Linked DNA regions of Homo sapiens: region 2 is linked to region 1. The links are contacts of gene promoters, found by promoter capture Hi-C in blood cells and fetal thymus (Javierre and others, 2016). All regions are on one chromosome and are shown on one strand. The core of a region is centred on a gene start or on the middle of the fragment in contact, and the rest is flanking DNA. Distances in the headings are between cores, read along the strand shown. Region 1 holds the start of ZNF543 (zinc finger protein 543). Region 2 holds the start of ZNF350 (zinc finger protein 350).

The links. Contacts are between HindIII fragments. The CHiCAGO score rates a contact against its expected background, and 5 or more counts as called.
Region 2: a contact is called between the fragment with the promoter of ZNF350 here and the fragment with the promoter of ZNF543 in region 1, in 3 of 17 cell types (total CD4 T cells, non-activated CD4 T cells and naive CD4 T cells). The highest score is 12.3, in total CD4 T cells.

The regions. Positions count from the first base shown.
Region 1 is chr19:57,315,327-57,323,160 of GRCh38, forward strand. ZNF543 (zinc finger protein 543) reads left to right here and starts at 5,146. Exons shown (of 4, transcript NM_213598.4): 1 at 5,146-5,545. The coding sequence starts at 5,528. It also overlaps the pseudogene LOC100288211. RefSeq lists a silencer at 2,155-2,449 and enhancers at 3,522-4,039, 4,965-5,084, 5,095-5,244. The HindIII fragment of the contact is 3,609 bases long and covers 2,525-6,133 here.
Region 2 is chr19:51,982,184-51,990,017 of GRCh38, forward strand. It overlaps ZNF350 (zinc finger protein 350), which reads right to left and starts at 4,657. Exons shown (of 5, transcript NM_021632.4): 1 at 4,587-4,657. RefSeq lists enhancers at 4,122-4,997, 4,584-4,823. The HindIII fragment of the contact is 6,623 bases long and covers 4,122-7,834 here.

The DNA.
Region 1 (7,834 bases), core at 3,896-6,395:
CCAGTGTTGTTTATTCTTTTGAAAAACCAACTTACGGTTTTATGATCTTTGTGTAGATTTTCACATCTCAGTTTTATTCAGTTCAACTCTGATATTGGTTATTTTTCTCTGCTGCTTTTCTTTCTTTTGGGGTTGTTTTTTTTTTCTTTTAGTTCCTCTAGGTGTGATGTTATTTTGTTAACTTGAGATTTATCTAACTTCTTGGTGTAGGCATTTTGCACTATAAACTTTCAACACTGCTTTAGCTGTGTCCCAAAGATTCTGGTATGTTGTATCTCTGTTTTAATTAGTTTCAAGGAATTTTTTTATTTGTCTTGATTTCATTCTTTACCTAAAACACATTCAGGAGAAGATTGTTTAATTTCCATGTAATTGTATGGTTTTGAGAGTTCTTCTAGGTATTGATTTCTGTTTCTACTGTGCTATGGTCTGAGAGTGTGGTTGGTATGACTTTTTTTTTAATTGTTGAGTATTGCTTTATGGCCAAGTATGTGATTGATCTTAGAATATGTGACATGTGCAGATGAAAAGAATGTATGTTCTGTGGTTGTTGGGTAGAGTATTCTGTAGATTTCTGTAAGGTCTATTTGGTCAAATGTCCAGTTTAGCTTCCAAATACCTTTGTTAGCTTTCTGCCTTGGTGATGCATCTAACACTGTCAGTGGGGTGTTGAAGTCTCCTGCTATTATTGTCTGGTTGTCTAAGTCTTGTTGTAGGTCTCTAAGAACTTGTTTCATGAATATGGGTGCTCCAGTGTTTGGTGCATATATATTTGGGATAGTTAAGTCTTGTTGAATTGAATCCTTTATCACTATGTGATGCCCTTCTTTGCCTTTTTTGATCATTGTTGGTCTAAAGTCTGTTTCGTGTGAAATAGCAATCCCTGCTCTTTTTTTTCCCATTTGCTTGATCTTTCTCCATCCTTTTACTTTGTGCCTATGGGTGTCATTGCATGTGAGATGTGTCTAATGAAGAGAATACACAGTTGGGTTTCATTTCTTTTTCCAACTTGCCACCTTGTGCCTTCTAAGTGGGGCATTTAGCCTATTTACATTCAAGGTCAATATTGATAAGTGAGGATTTGATCCTGTCATTATGTTGTTAGCTGGTTGTTATGTGGACTTTATTGTATAGTTGGTTTGTAGTATCAACAGGATATGTGCTCAAGTTGTTTCTGTGGTGGCAGATACTCATCTTTTGCTTCTAGGTTTAGCACTGTTTTAAGGACTTCTTGTAAGGCAGGTCTGGTAGTAATGAATTCCCTTAACATTTGTTTGTCTGAAAAAGATTTTATTTATCCTTCACTTAATGAAGTTTAGTTTGGTTGGATATTAAATTCTTGGTTCAAATTTCTTTCATTTAAAAATGCTGAATATAGGCCCCCAGTCTCTTCCAGCTTGTAAACTTTCTGAAAGGTCCACGGTTAGCCTGATCGGGTTCCTTTTGTGGGTAACCTGCCACTTCTCTCTAGCTGCCTTTAATGTTTTTCTTTTGTATTGACCTTGGAGAATCTGATGACTATGTGTCTTAGGGATGGTCATCTTGTATAATATCATCTCACAGGGGTTCTCTGAATGTCCTGAATTTGCATGTCAACCTCTCTAGTGTGGTTGGGGAAATGTTCATGGACAGTATCATCAAATATGTTTTCCAAGTTCCTTGTTGTCTCTCCATCTCTTTCTGGAATGCCAATGTGTTATAGGCTTGGTCTTTTTACATATCCCATATTTCTTGTAGGTTTTATTCATTTTTTAAAATTCTTTTTTCTTTATTTTTTTCTGCTGTATTGGTTCAAAGGAGTCGTGTTTGAGCTCTGAGATTATTTTCTTTTTTTTTGTGGGATAGCAAACACTTATTTGAAGAACTTTTAGGATAAAATTTAGTTTACCTCTGATAAAGCTGAAGAAAAATGATTGCAGTTTTTATGCATTAAATGATAAACATTGCCTTTGTATTCTTTTCCCAGTTCTTCTACAATTTTTTCTATATCATCTTCTAGGAAGTCCGTGCTCCCTAAAACAACTTCTTTAAATTTAAATGGTTCTCCTAGTTCAGAAGCATTTCCTGGGGAAATTTCAAATATTCCAGAAAAGGGGTAAGGATGGCCACCATAAGCAAATTCTCTGCCATAGACTTCAATTTCTGAATGAAAAACTCCAATTCCAATGGATGAGGTATATTCCTTCATCCAATACATGTCACACACGTTGAGCACCACTAACTGGTTAGCCCCCATCCTCCTCCCCGCGGCCGCCGCCTAGTCCTCAAGCCGCTCGGTCTCCGCGGGGCCGGAGGCCGCTCCCACCCCCGCGGGCGCTTCAAGGGGCCTGAGCCGGGCACTAAGCGTACAGCCCTGCCCGTGGCAGCCGGGGCAGAAGCATCGGGCAGCCAAGCCACTCCCGGGCGCCAACGACAGGAGCCTCTGTGCGGACAGGGCCGGACAGCTGGCGGCCCGCTCCGGATGAGGCACCTCCCCTAGGCGGCAGACACATGGGGAAAAACTGAGCTCTGAGACTATTTTCTAAGCTTGGTCTATTCTGTTGTTAGCGCTTCCAGTTACATTATGAAATTGCAATTGCTGTAGTTAATTTCTTATTTCCAGAAGTTCAGTTTGATGACTCTTTTTCTTTTCTTTCTTTTTTTTCTTTCTTTTTTTTTTTTTTTTTTTTTTTTTGAGACGGAGTCTTGCTCTGTTGCACAGGCTGGAGTGCAATGGCATGATCTTGGCTCACTGCAACCTCCATCTCCTGGATCCAAGGGACTCTTGTGCCTCAGCCTCCCGAGTAGCTGGGATTACAGGTGCCTGCCAGCACACCCAGCTAATTTCTGTATTTATAGTAGAGATAGGGTTTCACCATGTTGGTCAGGCTGGTTTCGAACTCCTGACCTCAAGTGATCCACCCGCATCAGCCTCCCAAAGTGCTGGGATTACAGACGTGAGCCACCGTGCCCAGCCCATTTTGGTTCTTTGTTAATATGGTAATATTATATTTAAACTCTTGGATTGCATTATTGGTTTCCTTGGATTTTTCCTTCCTTGCCATCCAGACTCTGAATTCTAAGTCATTTCAGCCATTTAAGCATGGTTCCAAACCATCACTAGGGAGCTAGTGCAGTCGTTTGGAGACCTTTAGAGTTGCCAGAAATCTTGCACTGGTTCTTTCTCATATGTGTGGGCTGATGTTCCTTGAATCTTTGAAGTTGCTCTCCTTTGGATGGGGCTTTCTGCTTTTATATTATTTGATGCCCTTGGGAGTTTTACTGTGGTATAAGTTGGGTTTAGTTTCATGGTTTCAATTATGGGTGCTTTCACAGGCCAAGGCTCAGCTGAGCACTCCTGAGCTGCATGCTGTAAACCTGGGTAGAGGGGATTAAGCCCTTGGCTTTGTTCTCTGGCTGCTTGGGGTGAAGCACCTGCTGTGCTAGAGGGGCTGAGGTGTTCTCAGTCTGCTGGCAAAAGTGCTCCAGCAGAGCATTGTGGGGACTGCAGAGAGTGCACTGTGGCTGGGGGATGGGGAGGCCACAGGCAAGTGTGCACCACTTGGGCAGTAGAGGGGGGCTACCTGCAAGTGTGTGCCAATGGGGTGGCATGGCTGTGGTGTAGGTGAGTGAAGCACCATGGTGTGAGGGGTCCCCGGCAATGCCTCCCACCTTTTTGAATCTCCAGTGTCTATTATTCCACTATTTCCATATGTATACATCATTTAGCTACCACTTATAAGTGATAACATGCAGTATTTGACTTTGTTTCTGAATTATTTCACTTAAGAGAATGGCCCCCCAGTTCCAGCCATATTGCTGCAAAAGCCATGATTTTTTTTAATGACTGAGTAGTATTCCATGGAGTGTATATATATATACACATATATACATATACATACATATATATACATATATATACATATACATACATATATACATATATACATATACATACATATATATACATATATATACATATACATACATATATATACATATATATACATATACATACATATATATACATATACATACATATATATACATATATATACATATACATACATATATACACATATATATACATATACATACATATATACATATATATACATATACATACATATATACATATATATACATATACATACATATATACATATACATACATATATATACATATATACATATACATACATATATATACATATATATATCGCATTTTCTTTATCCAATCATCTGTCGATGGACACTTAGGTTGATTCTATGACTTTGCTACTGTGAATAGTGCTACAGTAAGCATGTAAGTACAGGCATCTTTTTGATATAGTGGTTTATTTTCCTTTAAGTAAATACCCAATAGTGGAATTGCCAGATCAAATGGCAGTTCTATTTTCAGTTCTTTGATAAATCTCCATACTGTTTTCCATAGAGGTTGTACTAATTTACATTCCCACCAATAGCATATAAGCGTTCCCTTTTCCTTGCATCCATACCAACATCTGTTGGTTTTTTACTTTTTAATAATAGCCACTCTGACCAGTATAAGATGGCATCTCAGTGTGTTTATGTGTGTGTGTTTTCTCTCATCATATCTCATTATAACCTCAAATTCCTGGGCTCAAGCAATCCTCTTGCTTCAGCCTCCCAGTGTCTAGGACTACAGGTGTACACCATCATGCCTTGCTCTTTTTTTTTTTTTTGGTAGATATAACATCTTACTATATTGCCCAGGGTGGTCTCAAACTCCTGACCTCAGCAATTATTTTGTGTTGGCATCCCAAAGCACTGAGATTACATATATGAGCTACCTCCCTAAAATAAGGGAAGTGAGCCAGAAGCTCTGGGCCCAGCCCATGATCTCAATCGGGGCGAATATCCCCGCCTCCTGACCTCAATTTTCCTAAGCTAGAAAGGACCTTTCGACCCTCCGACTTGTGCCCATAGTAAAGCGGCGGCCCTAAGACGACGCGGGGGTCCTTGTGCGCACTTAAATGGAGTCGGCTGCGCTTGGTGAGTTCCCACACCCGGTAGATGTGAGGGAAAAACTGCCTTACTCAGAAGGCACCACCCCTTGCGTCGGCCGCGGACTCTAGGCCAATGACGGGCCAGGACACGGGCGATTTCTGCGGGCCAGGGCGGCGGAGGTGGGACTTCCGCTTCGTCGCGTGACGTCATCTCCGTGAGCAGGATTGGCCCTGGAACAGTGTGGGGCCTGGACCGCTGGGTAGGCGCGTCCAGCGGCCTGAGCAGGGGAGGGTAATGAGGCTGTTACGCGCCTTCTCCGCATCTTGGCGGGAGCCTGACGCCCCGCTTCTTCCCTAACGGGGTGTTCCACCGGCGCCTGCCGAGGCCTAGGCCTCCGCAGCCGCCCTCCGTCTCCTCAGCCCCGACGCTGCGCCCGCTTTGTGCGCATTTTTCTCTGGGGAAACTGAGGCTCCGAGTGCGAAAGTCAGCCGAGGTCGCCCCGCCCAGGACAGAGAAGGGCTGGGGGTCGGCTGAGCCGCGGCATTCCCGGGCCCCGCTAGGGCTGCAGGGTCTCAGGATGGCAGCCTCGGCGCAGGTGAGTGGACGAGGTTTTGGCCTTGCTGCTGCTCTGCTACTTCTGGAGGCCTCGTGGGCAGGCAGAAGCCAAGACAGCCACAGGATGTTTCTTTGTCGCCGTCGTTTATTTAAGAGAAGTGGCCGTAGCTTGTCATTTCCTTTATCCGCAGTCCTGCAATAGTGTTGGCCTCCGACAGGTGCTCAGTCCTTGGTAGAAGGATGAATGATGCTTCCTTCATGGATCTCATCACACTTCCCTTAAATCCAACCTCCTCTGTTGCCTGCCAGCCCCTACCCCATCCACCTGGCCAACCACCCCTGACCTTGTCTCTCCATTTTTCCCTTGTCCTTTGCTCTTCAGAGCCACCAACCTGACCGTGCAGTCTTCTTCCTTTTTCCAGGCTTTCTCTTTGCACTTCCCTTTGCCTTGAACACTGCCCCTATAACTTCGCAGGGCCTCCCTCTCATATCTTTCTGGCCTCTGTCCAGATGTCACCTATTTGGAGGTGGCTTTCTTGGCAATTCCGGCTAAAGTGGCGCCTTACGCACTTGCCCATTTTTGGCAATGTGTGGCATTTTTGTATAGAGAATCTGACGATATTAAAGAAGCTTGCCGTTTGAGTTGGTCTAGGATGTTATGTGAACAAAGAGAAACGAAATAATTGCAAAGAGTGACAGCTGATCATAAAGAGTCCTTGCTGTGGGCTGATTGGCAGGCATTATTTAACCCTCAGCTCCTTTAATCCTGAACTCCTTAGAATTAGGTTCTCTTGTCCTCACTGTTTTACACAAGAGCAGCTGGAGGCTCACATAGGTTCAATTACCTGCCTTACATCACTGTAGCTCTTAAGTATCAGAAACTAACAACTGGTGTGTCTACCATCACAGCCTGTGTTTTTACCCTCTTCTTTGCCCGCAATGGTTAGGGAGGCCTGGGGGTGACACCTAAAGTAAACTTTGCAAGTTGAGCAGGCTTCCTTCTAGCAGGTGGTCTTGGACATGAGGAGTCATGGCATTTCATGCTGGTGGAACTGTGTGGACTAAAAAAAAATGGTTTATTGGTTGTTTAAGGAGTCCGCAGGGGACCCGTGTGGCTTCCACAGTGGTTTCCTGAGTGGTTTTCTCCTATACCAGCTGACACATGTCTTGGGACACAAGATTTTGTGGTCTTTTGCTAGATGTGCCTTCCTCCTTAGCCAGGACAGACATAGCCAGTCAGGGGCCCATGTTCTCATGGCTACAACCTGCTGTGTCCTCTGTGACTCTTGTTCCTTGCTCCTGAAGTATCCTGACCTCAGGGATACTTGTTGGTAGGACTCAAACAGGAAAAGGTAGTGATAGCTCGTTGTGGATTCTTCCTATGAGAATGGGCATCTGTGAGGCCCAGAAGTGTCCGAGGCAGCAGATGCAGGTCCAGGCCCTGCCACTTTTGAGGCAGGTGCCACCACCTCAGGTGACTCTTCTGTGAGGTAGGTGATTATGACTATGCTGCTCTGCCCAGGTCCATGAAAATATTTCAAGTGGCTAACCCCAGCACAGTGGCATGTGTCTGTATATCCAGCTTGGGAGGCTAAGGCAGGAGGATCATGAGTTCAAGCCCAACCTGGGCAAAATATTGAGACCCTGTCTCAAAAAAAAAAAAAAAAATCCTGAAAATATTTTCAGGGTGGCTCAAATGGATGTATTTCAATGTTTCCCATCCTCATTAACTGTGCATTAACTTTGCTAATGAAGGAGTGTCGGGTTGCATGATTAGAACATAGACCATAGGGCCCTGGGTTCAAATTCTGTCTCTCCTGATAAGAGATGTGACTTTGGGTAGACTAGTGGAGGTCCTGGACCTCAAGTCTCTGAGTGTGACATGGAGATGATGATGGTGAACTCAGGAGCTGTGGCCCTTTGCCCCAGTGTTTCCTTTACAGCTTTTCTTCAGATCTTTTGACTATTCTTGGTGAAGTGGAAAACCCTGTTGTGTTGACCTGGACATCAGGGCTCAGATAAATGAAATGAGATTTCCAAGGTCACATAGCAGGCTTGTGTTGATTTCAGGAATTTGGTTTTAAACCTCAGGAGTCTGACTCCTGAGCTGGGGACTTTTAGTCACTTTACCATGGCATGTAAAGCCATTAGCATGAGGCAGGCTCACAGGGAGGATCGGTAAGACTCAGGTGCTGTTCTTGTTGTTGTTGCTGGTGTTGTTTTTGTTATTATTCTTTCCCATTCCTCTGATGTCTCAGAGCACTTACTGTCTTGCCTCTCAGTCCCCTTAGGATTGTCCTAACCTTATTTCTGTGTGAAGTGGCTTTCT
Region 2 (7,834 bases), core at 3,407-5,906, 5.3 Mb before region 1:
TGCCATTCACTGGACATCCTAACTCATAAAACCCCATAGTTAACAATGTACAGCCAATTGTTAATTGATATTATTTCTGTAAACCAATGAGAATTCTTGCCAAACAACTTTATGTCAGCTCACGGTTTGTTCCCTTTTGACTTTAAAACCTGTTTCTAACAAAATCCTAACAGAGCACTTAACCAAGGCAACCTGAAAGTATTTTCCCAGGCAGCTGTCCTCATTTTGGCTCAAGTAAACTCTTTAAAATTGTATTTTGTGCAGTTTCCTCTTTTAGGCTGACATAAACGATATCATTTAGAAGAACTCGAATATATTTTTAAAATTAGATTTACTGAGATAAATTTTAACAGTTTTAAATAAATGCAAAGATGTACTATAAAGATGGGCTGGAAAACAAAGCATTTTAAAAATGTCAAGTCTCCCAAATCTACAGATTCAATGAAATCACAGTCACAATCCCAAACTGATACTGAAAAGTTTAAATAGCTATAAACTTTTTTTTAAAGTTTGAAAAAAAAGTTAGAAGACTTGCCATATCAGTTATGAGGACTTATAAAGCTACTTTAATTAGGACAGCACAATATTAGTACAATAACAGGCAAATAGGACAAAGGAACAGAATAAAATCCTTATAAGCAGAATTAAGCACATATAGAGACTCAATGGCAATGATAGCACTACAGGGAAGTAGATAAAAGCTGTCTTTTCAATAAATGGAACTAAGGGCGCCGTGGCTCACGCCTGTAATCCTAGCACTTTGGGAAGCTGAGGAAGGTGTGGGGGAAAGAGAGATCAGACTGTTACTGTGTCTATATAGAAAGAGGAAGACATAAGAAACTCCATTTTAATCTGTACAAAGAAAAGTTCCTCTGTCTTGAGATACTGTTAATCTGTAACCCTAGCCCCAACCCTGTGCTCAGAAACGTGTGCTGTGTTGGCTCAAGGTTTAATGGATTTAGGGCTGTGCAGGACGTGCTTTGTTAAAATGTGTTTGCAGGCAGTATGCTTGGTAAAAGTCATCACCATTCTCCAGTCTCAAGTACCCAGGGACACAATGCACTGCGGAAGGCCGCAGGGACCTCTGCCCAAGAAAGCCTGGGTATTGTCCAAGGTTTCCTCCCACTGATACAGCCTGAGATATGGTCTCGTGGGAAGGGAAAAACCTGACCATCTCCCAGCCCAACACTCGTAAAGGGTCTGTGCTGAGGAGGATTAGTGAAAGAGGAAGACCTCTTTACAGTTAAAATAAGAGAAAGCCATCTGTCTCCTGCTCCTCCCTGGGAATGGAATGTCCCGGTATAAAACCCAATCATACATTCTATTTACTAAGATAGGAGAAAACCACCTTATAACTAAAGGTGAGACATACTGGCGGCAATACTACTCTTTACTACACTAAGATGTCTGTGTAAAGTCAAACATAAATCTGGCCTACGTACACATCAAGGCACAGGACCTTTCCTTAAACTTATTTATAACACAGAGTCCTTTACTCACATGTTTTCCTACTGACCCTCTCCCCACCATTACCCTATAGTCCTGCCACACCCCCCTCACCAAGATGGTAAAAATAGTAATCAATAAATACTAACAAAACTCAGAGACCAGTGCCGGTGTGGGTCCCCCATATGCTGAACACCAGTCCCCTGGGCCCACTTTTCTTCCTCTGTACTTTCTCTCTGTGTCTGATTTCTTTTCTCAGTCTCTCATTTCCACCTTGCAAAAAATACCCACAGGTGTGGAGGGGCAGGCCCCCTTCAGGCAGGTGGACCACTTGAGCCAGAGTTGGAGACCAGCCTGGCCATCATGGTGAAACCCCATCTCTACTAAAAATACAAAAATTAGCCAGGCAAGGTGGCACCTGCTGGTAATTCCAGCTACTCGGGAGGCCGTGGCACAAGAATCACTTGAGCCCAGAAGGCAGAGGTTGCAGTTGAGCCAAGCACGCCACTACACTCCAGCCTGGGCGACGAGAGCAAGACTCTATCTAAAAAAATTAAAAAAAAAAAAAAAAATCAATAAATGGTACTGGGGATGGGGACAGAAAGTTAAAACCCCCCTCACAACATACACAAAAACCATTTTAGAATCAACTGTCAATTTCAATGGTAGAAACATATCAATAAAGCTTTAAAGAACATTAATATAGGAGAATCTCTCAATGTTATTAGGGTATGGCCAGATATTTTAAAGAGGCCACATAAAGCACCCTATAAAGCAAACTATATCCTGCTAGGGGAACTGTAAGTGGTACAACCACTTTAGAAAACAGTTTGACATCTATTTAGACGGAGTTTATACACACTCTATGAAGCAGCAATTTTCCTCCGAGGTGCACATCTAGATATACATCTCTGCCTCCCCCATATGAGAGCACATATGAACCAAAAGACATTTACACAAATTTTCACACATGCATTATTCTTAATAATACAAGCTTTAGGTAATACAAATGTAATTAATAATAGAAAAAACTGCTATATTTTACATAATGGAATGTGATAGAAAACCTATTATACCTTTGGTCCAGCCTGCAAGAATGCTTTTTACATTTTTGAAAGACTGTAAAACAAAAAGCAAATTAGCATATGCAAGAGACCATATGTAGCCTGCAAGCCCTAAAATATTTACTGTAAATTCGCCTGATCCTTGTCATTGAGCAAAGAAAATATACTCAGATGCAACAGGAAAGACCCTCACCAATAATGAGCAAAAGAAGGCTGACACAAAAAAAGAGTGATGTACAATTCCACTGATATACAGAGTTTAAAATAGGCAAAACTGTATTAACTACAATGATAAATAATGATTAATTATATAAAGAAAAGCCTAAAATACTTTTCGGTGTGAGAATGGAAAAAGACTCACAGAACACCACTGGTGTGCTGACCATATTCTATTTCTTGACCTGGGCAATGACTGCTTATACATATATTGCCTCCATGATAATTAAATTGTACATTTAAAATATATAAATGTAGAAAAATTAACAAAGTAAAGGAAGAGATCAACCATACCAAACAGTTTACCTCCAGGAAAGGTGTTAACTCCAGACAACACAACGGGTGAATTTTACAGGTGGGTAATAAAACAAGAACGTCCACTAACACCCTATTTTCCTACTTTATACTGGAAAGTTGAGCCAATGCATTAAGATAAGAATGAATTATAAGCATTACAAAGTAAGACAGAAAATTAATGTTATTTTCAGGCGATATCATCACGAACATGGAAAAAGAGATTCAAGAAATTACATATTTAAAAAAGAAAATGCTCCCTCAGAAACTCCCAGGCAGATTTTCACATACATAGTTGGCTAGAATTGCACCATACGCCTAAGCTCATTTCCATGTCAAACCTATCACTAGCAATGGCAATTGGAACCAGCAAGATTGGCTAAGACCAACAAGGCCTTACTAAGAAACTGGGATTTGGGTCGCCTTGCCACAGGGATGAATACTTCACGAAATGGAGATTCTGTTAAGAAAGTGTGAATATAAGGCGGGCAAGCAACACTCACTATATATTAAGAAGTGAAGGCCGGGCGCGGTGGCTCACGCCTGTAATCCCAGCACTTTGGAAAGCCAAGGTGGGCGGATCACCTGAGGTCAGGAGTTCGAGACCAACCTGCCCAACGTGGTAAAACCCTGTCTCTACTAAAAATACAAAAACTAGCCGGGCGTGGTGGCGTGGGCCTGTAGTCCCAGCTACTCAGGAGGCTGAGGCAGGAGAATCGCTTGAACCCGGGAGGCGGAGATTGCAGTGAGCCGAGATCGCGCCATTGCACTCCAGTCTGGGAGACAAAAGTGAAACTCCGTCTCAAAAAATAAAAAAAATAAATAAAAAATAAAAGAAGTGAATGCAGAGGTTGGCAACATTTTCGATTTTGCCGGCCACGAGGTCTCTGTCACAACAACTCAACCGCTGCCTTTGCAGCCATAGACAATATATAATCGGAGGGTATGACTGAACTTGACCCCCCGATCTGTAAATAGCCACCCCAAGGATCAGAAGAGTAGATATATGGTTTCGAACTAATGCTGGGGGCTGTGTCGCCTTTTGCCCCAGTAACCGAGGTTCGAACCTCAACCCAGGACCCAGGGCTCCAAAGTCTCGAAAGCTTCAGCCCTCACAAGCCTTTGTACCACAGACACTGGCCCCATGCCTCTTACTCATCCGAACCACGGACCAGACACTCTACAGCGATGGACATCCTCCCAGACTCCAACATCACTGAGTTCCAAATTAAATCCTGAACCCGAAGCAGACGCCGCATCGATCCTAATCGCCACCTCCATCCTTTACAAGCAGAGTGATCCATACCTTGACAGTTAGGACACGGCCGTTGATCACTACAGACCCTTAGTCACTGTACTCACACCAAAGGCACGCGGACCACAGACAGGGGGATCACAGACTCCCACCAGGTACCTCCCAAATGCCTATACCCCGGCGCTCCCCAGTCTTCCTGCCAAAAACTATGTGGTCCAGGGTACACCACGTCCTCAGATCTCCCAAACCTTCCACTGAGACAAAACCTGAACTAGGACAAAAAACTTTCAGGGACAAAACCACACACTGACCTCTATTTTCTCCAGATACACAAGAAGGGCCTCAACGTTACACTTCCGTAAACTGCTCCTACTTCTGGAGTCCTCGCACGGGTTTATGGTCCACCTACGGCGGCCGAGGAGAACCTAAAATGTTTAAAAGAGCAAGGACAAGCGCATTTACGGCATTTCCTACTCTGTAAAATGGCCGCGCCCATAGCCGTGGCTCCTGACGGCAGCCATGTTTGAAAATTGGACGCACAGAAGGCAGTGGCAGGTTTTTGAGCCAGGAGCCAGGGAAGAAGAGAAGTCACTGAAATCGCCTCGTTTCCTGGCACTTAAAGTCTTGCGAAAGGGGGCAGATTTTCAGAGACTCAGGCTTTATCAGGCAAATATGGGGCAAGCTAAATTGCCTTTAGCGCTTTTCCATCCACTTTGTTAAATTTAAAAAAAAAGGTTTTGAAAAAGACAAGTAACAGTGCAGCCAGGTGTAGGTATCCCAGAGAATGAATTGGAAATGGAAAAGGTAACAGATCAGGTAGAAAGGGAAAAGGCAACACATCAGGTAGGCAGACACCCACGGGAAAGCGTCTGGCGAAAATTAGCTTGCAGGAAGCGGTTTTTAAGAACAGAAAAATAGCAGGTATTCGGGGGGGCGGGTGGTGAAGAAAGAAAAAAATTATAATTTTTTTTGAGACGGAGTCTTGCTCTGTCGCCAGGCTGGAGTGCAGTGGCGAGATCTGGGCTCACTGCAACCTCTGCCTCCCTGGTTCAAGCGATTCTCCTGCCTTAGCCTCCCAAGTAGCTGGGACTACAGGCACGCGCCACCACGCCCAGCTAATTTTTGTATTTTTAGTAGAGACTGGCTTTCACCATGTTGGCCAAGATGATCTCGACCTCCTGACCTCGTGATCTGCCTGTCTCGGCCTCCCAAAGTGCTGGGATTACAGGTGTGAGCCACCGCGCCTGGCCTCGAAAAAATGATTATTATTTACAAAAAAGAAGAAGAAGAAGGAGGAAGAGGAGGAGGAGAAGGAAGAGAAAAGAGGAGAAAAGAAGAGAAAAGAGGAGAGGAGAGGAGAGAAAAGAGATTTTGAGAATGAATTACGATGTGAGCCTGGCCACGACAGACTAAAGGAATTGGGCCTCCTAGAAAGGCCACTTTTAGTAAAGGTGCCAATGGGAAGAGCAGAGCCAGAATTGAGAGTATAAAAATATTGTTAAGAGTTTTTGACAAAAGTGCCAAGACAATTCAATAAGAATAGTCTTTTCAACAAGCGGCACTGGGATAATTGGATATCCACATCCAGAAAAATGAGTTAGGACCCTCAAACCATACACAAAAGTTAACTCAAAATAGATCATAGATCTAAGTTTAAGAGAAAGTATAAAACTTAGAGAAGGAAAAGGGAGATAATCCTCATGGACGTGAGTTAATTCTGAGAGGAGAGTAAAGGATGACCCACAAAACAAAATAAAATTAATAAAGTGGACTTGATTTTTTTTTAAGTTTGTGCTTCTAAACACAACATTTAAGAAAGTGAAGTGGGGCACGGTGGCTCACACCTGTAATCCCAGCACTTTGGGAGGCCGAGGCAGGCGGATCATCTGAGGTCAGGAGTTCCAGACCAGCCTGGCCAACAAAGCGAAACCAGTCTCTACTAAAAATACAAAAATTACCCGGACGCGGTGGCGCGCGCCTGTAATCCCAGCTACTCGGGAGCCTGAGGCAGGAGAATCGCTTGAATCCGGGAGGCGGAGGTTGCAGTAAGCCGAGATCGCGCCACTGCACCCCAGCCTGGGCGACAGAGCAAGACTCCTCGGTAAAGACACCACTTCGTCACCCTGAATTACTCTGATTTTTATGGGTACAATGAGAATAGTGGACCTAGGAAGAAAAAGTTTTTAAATAGAAACCTTCAGGACAGATTTGGACTTGAAAGACTGACAGGAAGTGTTTCCAGCATCCAGTTAGTCTCAAAGCAACCACTAACCTTCAACTGCACACCTGAAAGCCTCCAGCCTCATTACATTCTCAAACACAGACAAGCCCCGTCTTCCTCTAAATAAAATTGCCTTCAAATTCAATTTAAAACTTACCACAGAGGCACTCCTTTGACACTCCTCCCCCTAGACCTTTCATTCACGCCACTCCTCTTCCTAGCTCGGGCTTCTCTGTATCTGAGCCCCATATTAAATTGCAAATCTGAGCAAAAAACAGCATTCACTGAGACACACTTTCCCCAGTTTTCTATTACTGAGACTCATGAAAAGTGAACATATAGACCTCAAGCTCTGTCCGTGGGACCCTCAGTCATTAAACTCTTAAAACTAAGCCTTAACCTTTGACATCCCAAGGGTCTCTTTCTCACACCCATATTCCTCGGTGACTAAACTGAAATAAAACCCCTGAACACGGACATTCACATGCGTTTCCACTTCATGGTCGTCCCCACAAGCTCCCCATCCGGATTCACACGCAGCATCAGGCTTTCAAGGCTACAGTAGCAGCTGCCAAAGGCTGAACACGTATCAGAACCTACTTCCGATTCTGGAATTCTGGTGCTGCAACCCCATCCTTCGCCATCTCTAAGAACACCGAGAGACTGGGAGGCGGGCTTCCGGAGAGGGATATGGGACATTTCCCAAAGTCCAGGTTCTGGCTTTGAACATTTTATATGAGGTAACATAGCTGTTTTACCTCATAGAGCATATTATGTCATTTCTGATGGGAGTGACCGTAGATTATTAGTGGAGTGATAGACACGCACATCAACAGAATAGAGTCAAGAAATGGACACAAGAACAGGCAACTGATTTTTACAAATGTTCAAAATCAATTTAATGGAAAGAGGACAGTGTTTTCAATACTGTTGAATCAACTGGGCAACCATAGGCTGAACTTTAAATTAACCCTTACCCTATATACAAAGATGAATTTAAATGGATATTGCTAAATATTAAAAAGCAAAACTGGCTGGGCGTGGTGTCTCACGCCTGCAATCCCAGCACTTTGGGAGGCTGAGGTGGCCAGATCACGAGGTCAGGAGATCAAGACCATCTTGGCCAACATGGTGAAACCCCGTCTCTACTAAAAATACAAAAATTAGCTGAGCATGCCGGTGCGTGCCTGTAATCCTAGCTACTTGGGAGGCTGAGGCAGGAGAATCACCTAAACCCAGGAGGCGGAGGTTGCAGTGAGCCAAGATCATGCCATTGAACTCCAGCCTGGGTGAGAGAGTGAGACTCTGTCTCAAAAAAAAAAAAAAAAAAAAAAAAAA